Regions from separate parts of the Homo sapiens genome. Here all the other regions are linked to region 3. Evidence: promoter capture Hi-C in 16 types of primary human blood cells and fetal thymus (Javierre and others, 2016). All regions are on one chromosome and are shown on one strand. Each heading gives the region's core, a stretch centred on a gene start or on the middle of the fragment in contact. The rest is flanking DNA. Distances are from core to core; before and after follow the strand shown.

The links. Contacts are between HindIII fragments. The CHiCAGO score rates a contact against its expected background, and 5 or more counts as called.
Region 1: a contact is called between the fragment with the promoter of HNRNPM here and the fragment with the promoter of XAB2 in region 3, in 1 of 17 cell types (fetal thymus). The highest score is 6.2, in fetal thymus.
Region 2: a contact is called between the fragment with the promoter of MARCHF2 here and the fragment with the promoter of XAB2 in region 3, in 1 of 17 cell types (non-activated CD4 T cells). The highest score is 5.2, in non-activated CD4 T cells.

What each region holds. Positions count from the first base shown.
Region 1 is chr19:8,443,708-8,446,858 of GRCh38, reverse strand. It overlaps HNRNPM (heterogeneous nuclear ribonucleoprotein M), which reads right to left and starts at 1,884. Exons shown (of 16, transcript NM_005968.5): 1 at 1,748-1,884. The coding sequence starts at 1,860. RefSeq lists silencers at 1,376-1,605, 1,846-2,125. The HindIII fragment of the contact is 1,747 bases long and covers 496-2,242 here.
Region 2 is chr19:8,411,765-8,415,059 of GRCh38, reverse strand. It overlaps MARCHF2 (membrane associated ring-CH-type finger 2), which reads right to left and starts at 1,755. Exons shown (of 5, transcript NM_001005415.2): 1 at 1,640-1,755. RefSeq lists silencers at 1,589-1,748, 1,779-2,138 and enhancers at 1,630-2,130, 3,001-3,295. The HindIII fragment of the contact is 7,216 bases long and covers 1-3,295 here.
Region 3 is chr19:7,627,577-7,630,794 of GRCh38, reverse strand. XAB2 (XPA binding protein 2) reads left to right here and starts at 1,250. Exons shown (of 19, transcript NM_020196.3): 1 at 1,250-1,318; 2 at 2,497-2,645; 3 at 2,944-3,067. The coding sequence starts at 1,268. It overlaps PET100 (PET100 cytochrome c oxidase chaperone), which reads right to left and starts at 1,002. Exons shown (of 4, transcript NM_001171155.2): 1 at 935-1,002; 2 at 136-222. The coding sequence starts at 961. It also overlaps a transcript of STXBP2 not described here. RefSeq lists enhancers at 909-958, 1,219-1,338. The HindIII fragment of the contact is 14,766 bases long and covers 1-3,218 here.

The sequences.
Region 1 (3,151 bases), core at 635-3,134, 820 kb before region 3:
GAATAGAGGAAGTTTTTCTCATTTCTAAGGGCCAGTAACCATGGTATTTTATTTCTCCCTACTTAAGGAGGGAAAGAATCTGGAATTTTCTCCGGATTTATTATCTACCAATATAGCTAGCACTTAGGGAACGTTCTTAACCTAAGCGCTCAACTAGGCAGGGCGCAGTAGCTCATGCCTGTAACTTCAGCACTTTGGAAGGCCTAGGCAGGAGGATGGCTTGAACCCAGGAGTTTCAGACCAGCCTGGGCAACACCCGGAGACCTCCTCTCTTCAAAAAATTAGCCGGGCATGGTGGTGCCGCGCCTGTGATCCCAGCTACTCAGGAGGCTGAGATGGAAGGATCGATTGAGCCCAGGAGTTCGAGGCTGCAGTGATCTGTGATCGTGCCACTGCATCCCAGCTTGGGTAACAGAGGGAGACCCTGTCTCAAAGAAAAAAATTAAATATATAAGTGCTCAACCGCATTCACTTTTAATCTCCATAAACTAAGCTTCACACATTACAATATGAGGAAGGCAAAGTCACAGACAGAAAGGAAAGAAAACGGAGGGAGTTAGTATTTAATAGCTACACTTTCTGTTTCCGATGATGAAAAAGTTCTGGACATGAAGCAGTGACGGTTACAGCACACTGAGTCAGTATACTCAATGCCACTGAATTATACGCTTAAAAAATGGTTAAAATGGCAAAGTCTACGTTATGTCTATTTTACCACAATGAAATAAATGTCTGGGAAATTCAATGTGTACCCAGGCTTCCCCTTCCTTCCCGGCCGCTGATCTTGGAGCCAAAACCTCTCTGTCTCTCTTAAGTGTCTGTAATCAGAATGAATGAGTTTCACCGGGGCACAAGTCGATGCTTCCTCCTTTAAAGAAACTTTTAAAAGCCAAGGAGTCAAAGAGCCCCAAGCAGGACTCGAAAAGCTGATGAAGTCTGGAAGTAAATGAACCCGCCTCCTGACAGAACAGCTTCCCCGAAACACGGGAAAAAGGGGATTCCTCCCCCGACTTCGTATCTGTCTGCTTCCGAGGGTGAACGCTAAGCAGCAGATCCCATCTCTCCACTAATACCTGCGGCGCACCCGGGGAGGAGGAGCGGGAAACGGCGAGGGACTTGAGCCAGGGCCAGAGCGTGGGGCGAGGGGCGGTTCCGAGGGAGGCACTTCCCGCGGAGCGCGGTCGGCGCGCGGGGACTAAGGGGCGGGGCAGGAGGGGAGCCCCCCGACCCGGCTTCGCGGCCCTTCCTGACGCTTCCCTCGCTCGGTTACCGTTGACTCGGGCTGACTGCGCGCGAGGCCTCCCGGGCGCGCACCCTCTCTCCTCCCCCCACGTTACGGATCAGAAAACAGACCCCGGGAGGAGAGGGGACGGGGGGCTGAAACCCGGCCCCCGAGGTCACCCTCCCGGGGAGCGGTCGGGTAGGCCTCGGAGGCTCTCCGGTCCGGGCCCGCGCCATCAACCCCCATGCGCAGCAGCTGGGCCTGAGGCCTCGACTACGGGGTTGGCCCCGGCCTGGAGGGACTGAGGGTGGCGAGGCTCGAGGCCCGGTGTAGGGGACGATTCTGGAGGCTCCCCCGGCTCCCCGCTCACGGCCCTAGACGCCGCTACCCTGAGCAGGCGGTACGGGAACAGCCGGGGCCGAGGCCGCGCCGGGGCTAGGCCGCCAACAGACCTAACGGAGCCGCCGCCCGCGTCGGCCGCGGAGAGGAACCCTTACCCGTGGCAAAGGACCGTGGGATACTCACCCCTTAGGGCCCGGAGCCCCGTTGCCGCTCGGCACGCCGGGCGCGCCGCTCTCTTCCTCCATTTTGATCTCCGTCGCCGCCACCTCCGCCGCCGCTTCGACCCCTGCCGCCATTTTCTCCGCGTCTGGGCTTTGTGTGAGCGAACGGGCTGCACCGCGCTGCGCCTGCGCGCCCACGTGACCCGACGCAACCAGTAACACCTGCGCCCGCCGCTCCCGGCTGCCTCCTTGGCCCCACTCGCCCCGGGCCACGCCCCCGCCGCGCGCAGGCGCAGACCGGCAGCTGTTGATCGCTTCTCTCTCGAGATACACTCGCGTTAGGCACCGACTGGCTGTTCCCGGCGCGCGTCCTCTGAGTCCGATAGAGGAGGCATCTCCCCACCCCACCCCACACAAACACCTAGACCTAGTCACTCTCAGCTTTCTGTAACCAGAGCTGGAGCAGAGGGGAAGCAATGATCCTGTCTAGAGATTCCTGGAAGTTTTAGATGAAGCTTGTTCAACCCGCGGTCCGGCACACGATTCGTAAACTTTCTTAAAACATTGTGTCTTTTTGTGTGATTTTTTTCTTTTTGTAACGCAATTGCGCGGTTCTCCAGCGCGAACTTTGTAGGCAACAACGGAACGGCATGGAATAATATCAGAGTATTATCCGTAATTCGCATTATAATTGCAAACAGTTCGTCCAGAAGAAACGGAAAACTGTTAAAATTCACTAATAATGGGGCCAGGCGCGATGGCTCACTCCTGTAATCCCAGCACTTTGGGTATGGGAGGCCGAGGCGGCGGATCACCTGAGGTCAGGAGTTCGAGACCAGACTGGCCAACATGGTGAAACCGCGTCTCTACTAAAAATAAAAAAATTAGCTGGACGTGGTGGCGGGCGCCTGTAATCCCAGCTACTCGGGAGGCTGAAGCAGGAGAATCGCTTGAACCCAGGAGCCGGAGGTTGCAGTGAGCCGAGATCACGCCACTGCACCGCAGCCTGGGAGATAGACTGAGACTCCATCTCAAAAAACAAAAAGATAAGTATTGAGTACTGGGCTTAATACCTGGGTGATGAAATAATCTGTACAACAAACCTCCATGACAAGTGTTTACCTATTTAACAAACCTTCACATTTACCCCCAAACCTAAAAGTTAAAAACAAAATTAAAAAAAAAATTAATGGCTGGGCGCGGCAGCTCACGCCTGTAATCCTACCACTTTGAGAGGCCAAGGCGGGTGGATCACGAGGTCAAGAGATCAGACCATCCTGGCCAACATGATGAAACCCTGTCTCTACTAAAAATACAAAAATTAGCCGGGTGTGGTGGCAGGCGCCCATAATCCCAGCTACTGGGGAGCCTGAGGCAGGAGAATCGCTTCAACCCAGGAGGAGGAGGTTGCAGTGAGCCAAGATCG
Region 2 (3,295 bases), core at 506-3,005, 780 kb before region 3:
GAAAGAGGCTGAAGCTCGGAGAGAGGCACCTACTTTCCCAAGGTCATATAGCTAGGAAGGGGTGGTGTCAGAATTTGAACTTAAAACAGTCCAGGGAGTGGTTCTGGACCTCAAGAGACCTGGGTTCTTTAACTCCTGGCCCTCCTGGCTATGCCACCGATGCTGGGTGTCCTGGTTCAAGTCACTTTGCTTCTCTGGGCCTCATTCTAATGATGGAGCTGGTGGACTCTGTCCGTGGAGGGGTCTCCTGAGAAGGAGCCTCCAGGCTGAATTCATCCAGTAAAGCTCACCCTTAGCTAGGCTTGTTTAGGGTGGCACTGAGGCCCCCCAGTCTTTTCCATACCTGCCCAGGCTCCTTTTCCTGAAGGTAGGAAACAGAGGGCAGAGGAATCAGAGGGCCCTAAAACTCCCTACATTGTGGTCTCAGGCAGCTGTTTTACTCTCTCAGCCTCAGTATTATCATCTCTAAAATGAGTGTTACAGGCCGGGCGCAGTGGCTCACGCCTGTAATCCCAGCACTTTGTGCACTTTGGGAGTTCAAGGAAGGTGGATCACTTGAGGCCAGGAGTTCGAGACCAGCCTGGTCAACATGGTGAAACCCCGTTTCTGCTAAAAAGACAAAAATTGGCCAGGCACGGTGGCGGGGGCCTGTAATCCCAACTACTTGACCAGGGTGAGGTAGGAATCGCTTGAATCTGGGAGGCAGAGGTTGCAATGAGCTCAGATCGTGCCACTGCATTCCAGCCTGGGCAAGAGAGAGAGACTCTGTCTAAAAAAAAAAAAGACGGGGAGTCATAATGATATGTAGTTCATAAATTAGTAAAAAATTAAGAAGTTAATAACTATTAGCTCTTATTATAATTACTATCATCAGCTTACAGAGTTGTTGATGAGAGGTCACACAGTCAACCCTGGCACACACAGTAAGTGCTCAATAAAAGCTCTATTAATATTTTTTAGGGTAAATGTGGAGGTTGTTATTGCATTCATTCCTCCCTGCATGAGAAGCAAGGTTCCAATCCCAGCTCTACTCCTTATGTGCTGTGTGGCCCTGGGCAAGACACTTAACCTCTTTGAGCCTGGACTCTCTCAACTGTATAACAGGGGACATTTCTACTGCTTCCACCTACTCAGTATGGTTTCAAAAGAACTGAATGAGCTCAACATGCCCATTTGACTACCCCGTTTTGAGCACCCACATAGCACAGGGCATCCTGTTTCAGCATCTTTGTGCAAAGTGGCTGGGTCATTATATTATAACTTACTATTTTGCAGGCAGAGCCGCTCTGAGAAGGAGGTTGGGGAAGGGCATTGGCCACTTAGCAGTTGCCTACTGTGTGTCAGGCGTTTTCTGCACCAGCCACCTCCTGAATCCTCCCAGAAGCCCCATCAGGTTGGCAATGGGATGACCCAGTTTCACAGGTGGGGAAACCGAGGCTCGGAGAGGCGCCTATGTGTGCCGGACCCCGGAGACCTCCCACCGGCCTTGACACGGGAACTGAGGTCCCCGCGTCCCCGAGAAGGCTGTGGCCAAGGGATCGAGCCCAGCCGTCCCGCCCGGGTGCCGAGCTCCGGCCTCGAACCCGGGGCCGGCCCGCGGACTGGCGTCCTCCGGCCCTACCTGCAGGCCCGTGCCTACCTGATCCGCGGCCGGGCCGGGCGGCCGCACAGGCCCCTCGGTTCGCCTCGGCCCCGGTCCCGGCCCGGCCCGGCCCGTCGGCGCCACTAGCTCCGCTCCGGCCGGCACCTGCGTCCGGGCACCGCCCGCCGAGCCGACAGCGCCGCGGACCAATAGCGACCGCCTCTCGCCTGCATTCGCCAATCGCCTTGCACGTCCCGCCCTAAGAGGCGGGGCCGGAGGCCACAGGGACGACTTGGGCCGCACAGGCCCCGCTGTGCCGCAGCTGCTGGCTCCGCCCCTGCCGCGTCTTGGCTCCGCCCCCAGCTCCGGCTCCGCCCCAGCACTGGCCCCGCCCCAGCCCCGCCCCAGGCACGAGGGGGTGCTGCTGCGCCACCTGCAGACGGCCAGCGTCCTCTAATAAATAAAACCTCTGCAGAATTTAACTTTTTTTTTTTTGAGACTGGCCGGGTGCAGTGGCTCATGCCTGTAATCGGAGCACTTTGGGAGGCCGAGACGGAAGGATCGCTTGAGGCCAGATGTTGGGGACCAGCCTGGGCAACATGGTGAGTTCCCGTCTCTACAAAAAATTTAAAAGGATGGGCGCGGTGGCTCACGCCTGTAATCCTAGCACTTTGGGAAGCCGAGGCGGGCGGATCACGAGGTCAGGAGATCGAGACCATCCTGGCTAACACGGTGAAACCCCGTCTCTACTAAAAATACAAAAAAATTAGCCGGGCGTGGTGGCGGGCGCCTGTAGTCCCAGCTACTCGGGAGGCTGAGGCAGAGGAATGGCGTGAACCCGGGAGGCAGAGCTTGCAGTGAGCCGACATCGCGCCACTGCACTCCAGCCTGGGTGACAGAGTGAGACTCTGTCTCAAATAAATACATAAATAAATAAATAATAAAATAAAATAAAATAAAAGTTAGCCAAGTGTGGTGGCCCAGGCCTGTAGTCCCAGCTGCTCTGGAGGCTGAGGCAAGAGGATCACTTGAGCCCAGGAGTTCGAGGCCAGTCTGGGCAACATAGTAAACTCACCCACCCCCATCTCTAAGACAGATCAATTTTTAAAAAAATACTGCACTATATGTTCACTTAGTATAAGCACACTTTTGCACATAATCACAGTATAACCTTCAAAATCAGAAAATTAATGTTCATCTAATATTATCATGTAATTCCCAGAGCCCATTCAAAGGCCAGGTGCAGTGACTCATGCCTGTAATCCCAGCACTTGGATCATTTGAGGTCAGGAGTTCGAGACCAGCCCGGCCAACATGGTGAAACCCTGTCTGTACTAAAAATACAAATAATTAGCTGGGTTTTGTTGTGGGCACCTGTAATTCCAGCTACTCAGGAGGCTGAGGCAGGAGAATTGCTTGAATCTGCAAGGTGGAGGTTGCAGTGAGCGGAGATCTTGCCACTGCACTCTAACCTGGGCAACACAGCCAGACTCTGTCTCAAAAAAAAGAAAAGAAAAGTTTCCAATAAAGTCCTTTAAAAATCCAAAGTCCAGGCCAGGCACAGTGAGTCATGTCTGCAATCCCAGCTCTTTGGGAGCCCAAGGCAGGAAGGTCTCTTGGGTCTAGGAGTCTGAGATCAGTCTGGGCAGCACAGTGAGACCCCATCTCTACAAAATAAAATAAAAATATTAGCCAGTTGTGGTGGCATCCTCC
Region 3 (3,218 bases), core at 1-2,500:
GAGCCAAAGGCCTCCAGAGCCCCACATCAGGGCAGGGTCGGCTTATGGGAGGCAGACATTAGTCCCCAGCAGACTGCTGCCCCACACCCTCTCCCACCCCTGGAATGAACCCTCAAACACTCCTCTTATGCCCACCTTGCGCTGTATGACATCGTCCTCAAACCACTCGGCCTGATTGGAAACCCAGAACATAGCCACAGGGAAAGTGAGGTAGATTATCATCTGGAATGGCAGAGGGTGGGTGAGGTGAGCTCCCCCCAAGCAATGTGCAGAGGCTCCTCAGAGCCTGGGGGACCCATCCTACTGCAGAGTCCAGAAGCGCCTCGTTACGGCCGACCCAAGAATCCCAGAACTCCCACCAAGGGTACAGAAACCTCGCACCCTAAAACCTAACTCCTATAATCCAGGAGGCCTCATTCCTGAAAGTTCCCTCTGAGCTGGAGTCTTCCTCTCAAACACAGACAGACACACAGACGCCCCAGCTACAATCAAAAGCATCTCCTCGAGACCTCATTACCCATCCCCACTTAAGATCCCGGGAGCACCCCCAAACCCAGGAGGCGTCACTCTTCAACTCCACTTCTCGAAGTCTAGGAATCTCCCTGTCATAGACACCCACCCACCACGAGCCCGAGAGCTCCCCCAGGATCTTAAGTCTTCCTTCTTTAGAGCCCCCTTCTCAGCTCACCCCTCTCTGAGGTCCTTCCTCGGACCAGCCCTCTCACAGCCCCCAAACCCAGAAGCCCAAATCCGAGAACCCCCCCAGCCCAGCGTCCCCTCTCCTGGATTTCCAACCAGAAAGGTTCCTCTCAAATCTTAAGAGCTTTCTCCTTGGAGCTCCCTCTTCCTTTGAAGTCCCCCCATTTCCAACCTCATCTTCAGATCCAGGAAGATCCCCTGCCCAGCCTCCCAACCCACTCCTGTGTCCACTGACCCGAAATATCTCCAGCTTCACCCCCATCTCGTTTCTCCCGGTCAACAAAGCCAGTTCCGCCCAAAGCCGACCCTCCAGCAAGACAGAAGCTCACTGGTGTTTTGCACGCTCCATTGCTGAAGCTGATTGGCCAATGTGTATCCTGATGGCGCATCTTCTGGCGCCTCTATTCTGCTTCCGGTCGCTGGCGTCGTCGAAAAGAAGTCAATAACGTGGGCCTGTCCGTCAAAAATGATTTAACCAATAGAAAACGGGTCTGGCTCGGAGGGGCGGGCCGTCAGTGGTAGACGTCATAAGCGCGCGACTCTCTCCTGTACCTGGGCATCCAGAAAAATGGTGGTGATGGCGCGACTCTCGCGGCCCGAGCGGCCGGACCTTGTCTTCGTGAGTCCACAGAGGAGCCGGGGGTGGCCTGCGTTGGGGCATTGGGACCTGGACGCCGCAGGGGATCGAGGCTGGGTCGGCAAGGAGATTTAGGCCGAAACTGCCAGGCCAAGGTCTGGGAACCCTAATGGGCCAGAGACCGGATCGTCATGTCCGCACCGAACTGTCCAGGAGTAAAAATATGGTGTTGTATCTTCGGGTCTGAGTAGAAAACCACTGTCGAAGGGAAGCGTCTAGCCTCCCGAACCAGGGGCGGAAATGGGGGCGTGCAGGGAATGGGAGAGGAGGAAGATCGCATAACTGAACCTTGAGAGGTGAAGATCGGTGTCTGAAGTAAAGGCTTGCTTACGAGGCCAGGGTTCTGGTTTCTGGGATGAAGGCTTGGTTTTCTGGATAGCGGTCTCTAGGCCTGGACTGCAGCATGACAGTTTCTGGGGTGGTGGCCAGGCTAGAAGAACCCTGGTGATGTGGAGCTTGTCAGGCGATGGCCAGTGAAATACTTACTCTCTGGAGTAGAGGCGTGACATCTTCACCAGATTCTTGGTGTGCAGAGTTAAAGGCTTGGCTTCTGGTGTATAACTCCTCCTGTGAGATAAAGGCCTAGCTTTTAATTTCTGGGGCAGAGTTGAGCTAGACGCTGGCTAGTGGGATCCTGGGGGCGGGGCTAGTGGCTTGGAATCTGGACCTGAGAGCCCTGGTGGCTGGGGTAAAGATCTGGTCATCTGGGCCTGGGGTGGAGATGGGTCAGATGGTGACAGTGGGAGTCTGAGGGGCCAAAGGCCTGGTGTCTGGGAAGAGGCACGTTTTGAAGAAGTGGGGTCTGGTGTCCAGGACTGGCATCTGGGCCAGGGCCTTGGTATCTAAGGAGTCTGACCATCTGGGGCAGAAAGCGAGTGGTGATGCGGACTCATTCCTGGCCCAGAGCCCTAATGACTGAGAAGTCTGATGATTTGGGTTCGATTTTGGGTAGTTGAATTCTGAGGGGTAAAGGTCTGGGCCACTGTCTTGGTGTCGGGCATCTGGTTTGGTGCCTGGGCATCTGGTGACCTGACTTCCTTGGTGGGTGGTGGGATCTAGGTAAAAGTCCGGAGTTTGGACCTGAGCCCCAGCAGTGGGATGGTGCTGCACACAGGCTCTGAGGGTAGGCCTCTCTTCTTCCCATTCCCTGGCCCTGGCAGGAGGAAGAGGACCTCCCCTATGAGGAGGAAATCATGCGGAACCAATTCTCTGTCAAATGCTGGCTTCGCTACATCGAGTTCAAACAGGGCGCCCCGAAGCCCAGGCTCAATCAGCTATACGAGCGGGCACTCAAGCTGCTGCCCTGCAGGTGGGAATGGCTCCAGCTGCCCTGCCCACCAGCCCCCACCCCACCTGGTCCAGTTATAACAAAACTGCCAAGTGGGTCCCGGGTCCCGGGTGATTGCTTCGTGTTTCATCACTGACCTGTACATCCCTTGATGGGTCAGCACACCTTCTCTGATGTCCCAGTCTGTCCCTGTCATTGCTGAGACATGTCACCCCTCCCACACCCCTTCTTCCCACATTTGCCAACTGGGGCAGGGCAAATGGTTCTGGGGGTGTCCATAAAGCTGACCGATCAGCATCTGTCCCCTCCTATTCCCCAGCTACAAACTCTGGTACCGATACCTGAAGGCGCGTCGGGCACAGGTGAAGCATCGCTGTGTGACCGACCCTGCCTATGAAGATGTCAACAACTGTCATGAGAGGGCCTTTGTGTTCATGCACAAGGTTTGGGGCTCGGCGAGGGGATGAATCGGGAAGTGGAGCTCAGTCCATGGTGGTGGGTGGGGCGGGGACAGGGGCTGGGCTCAGCATGTTAGGGATGGGGGCTTGGATTCCTGTTGCTTCTTTGCATGGGAAGTTGGGCTGGACTCAGTCC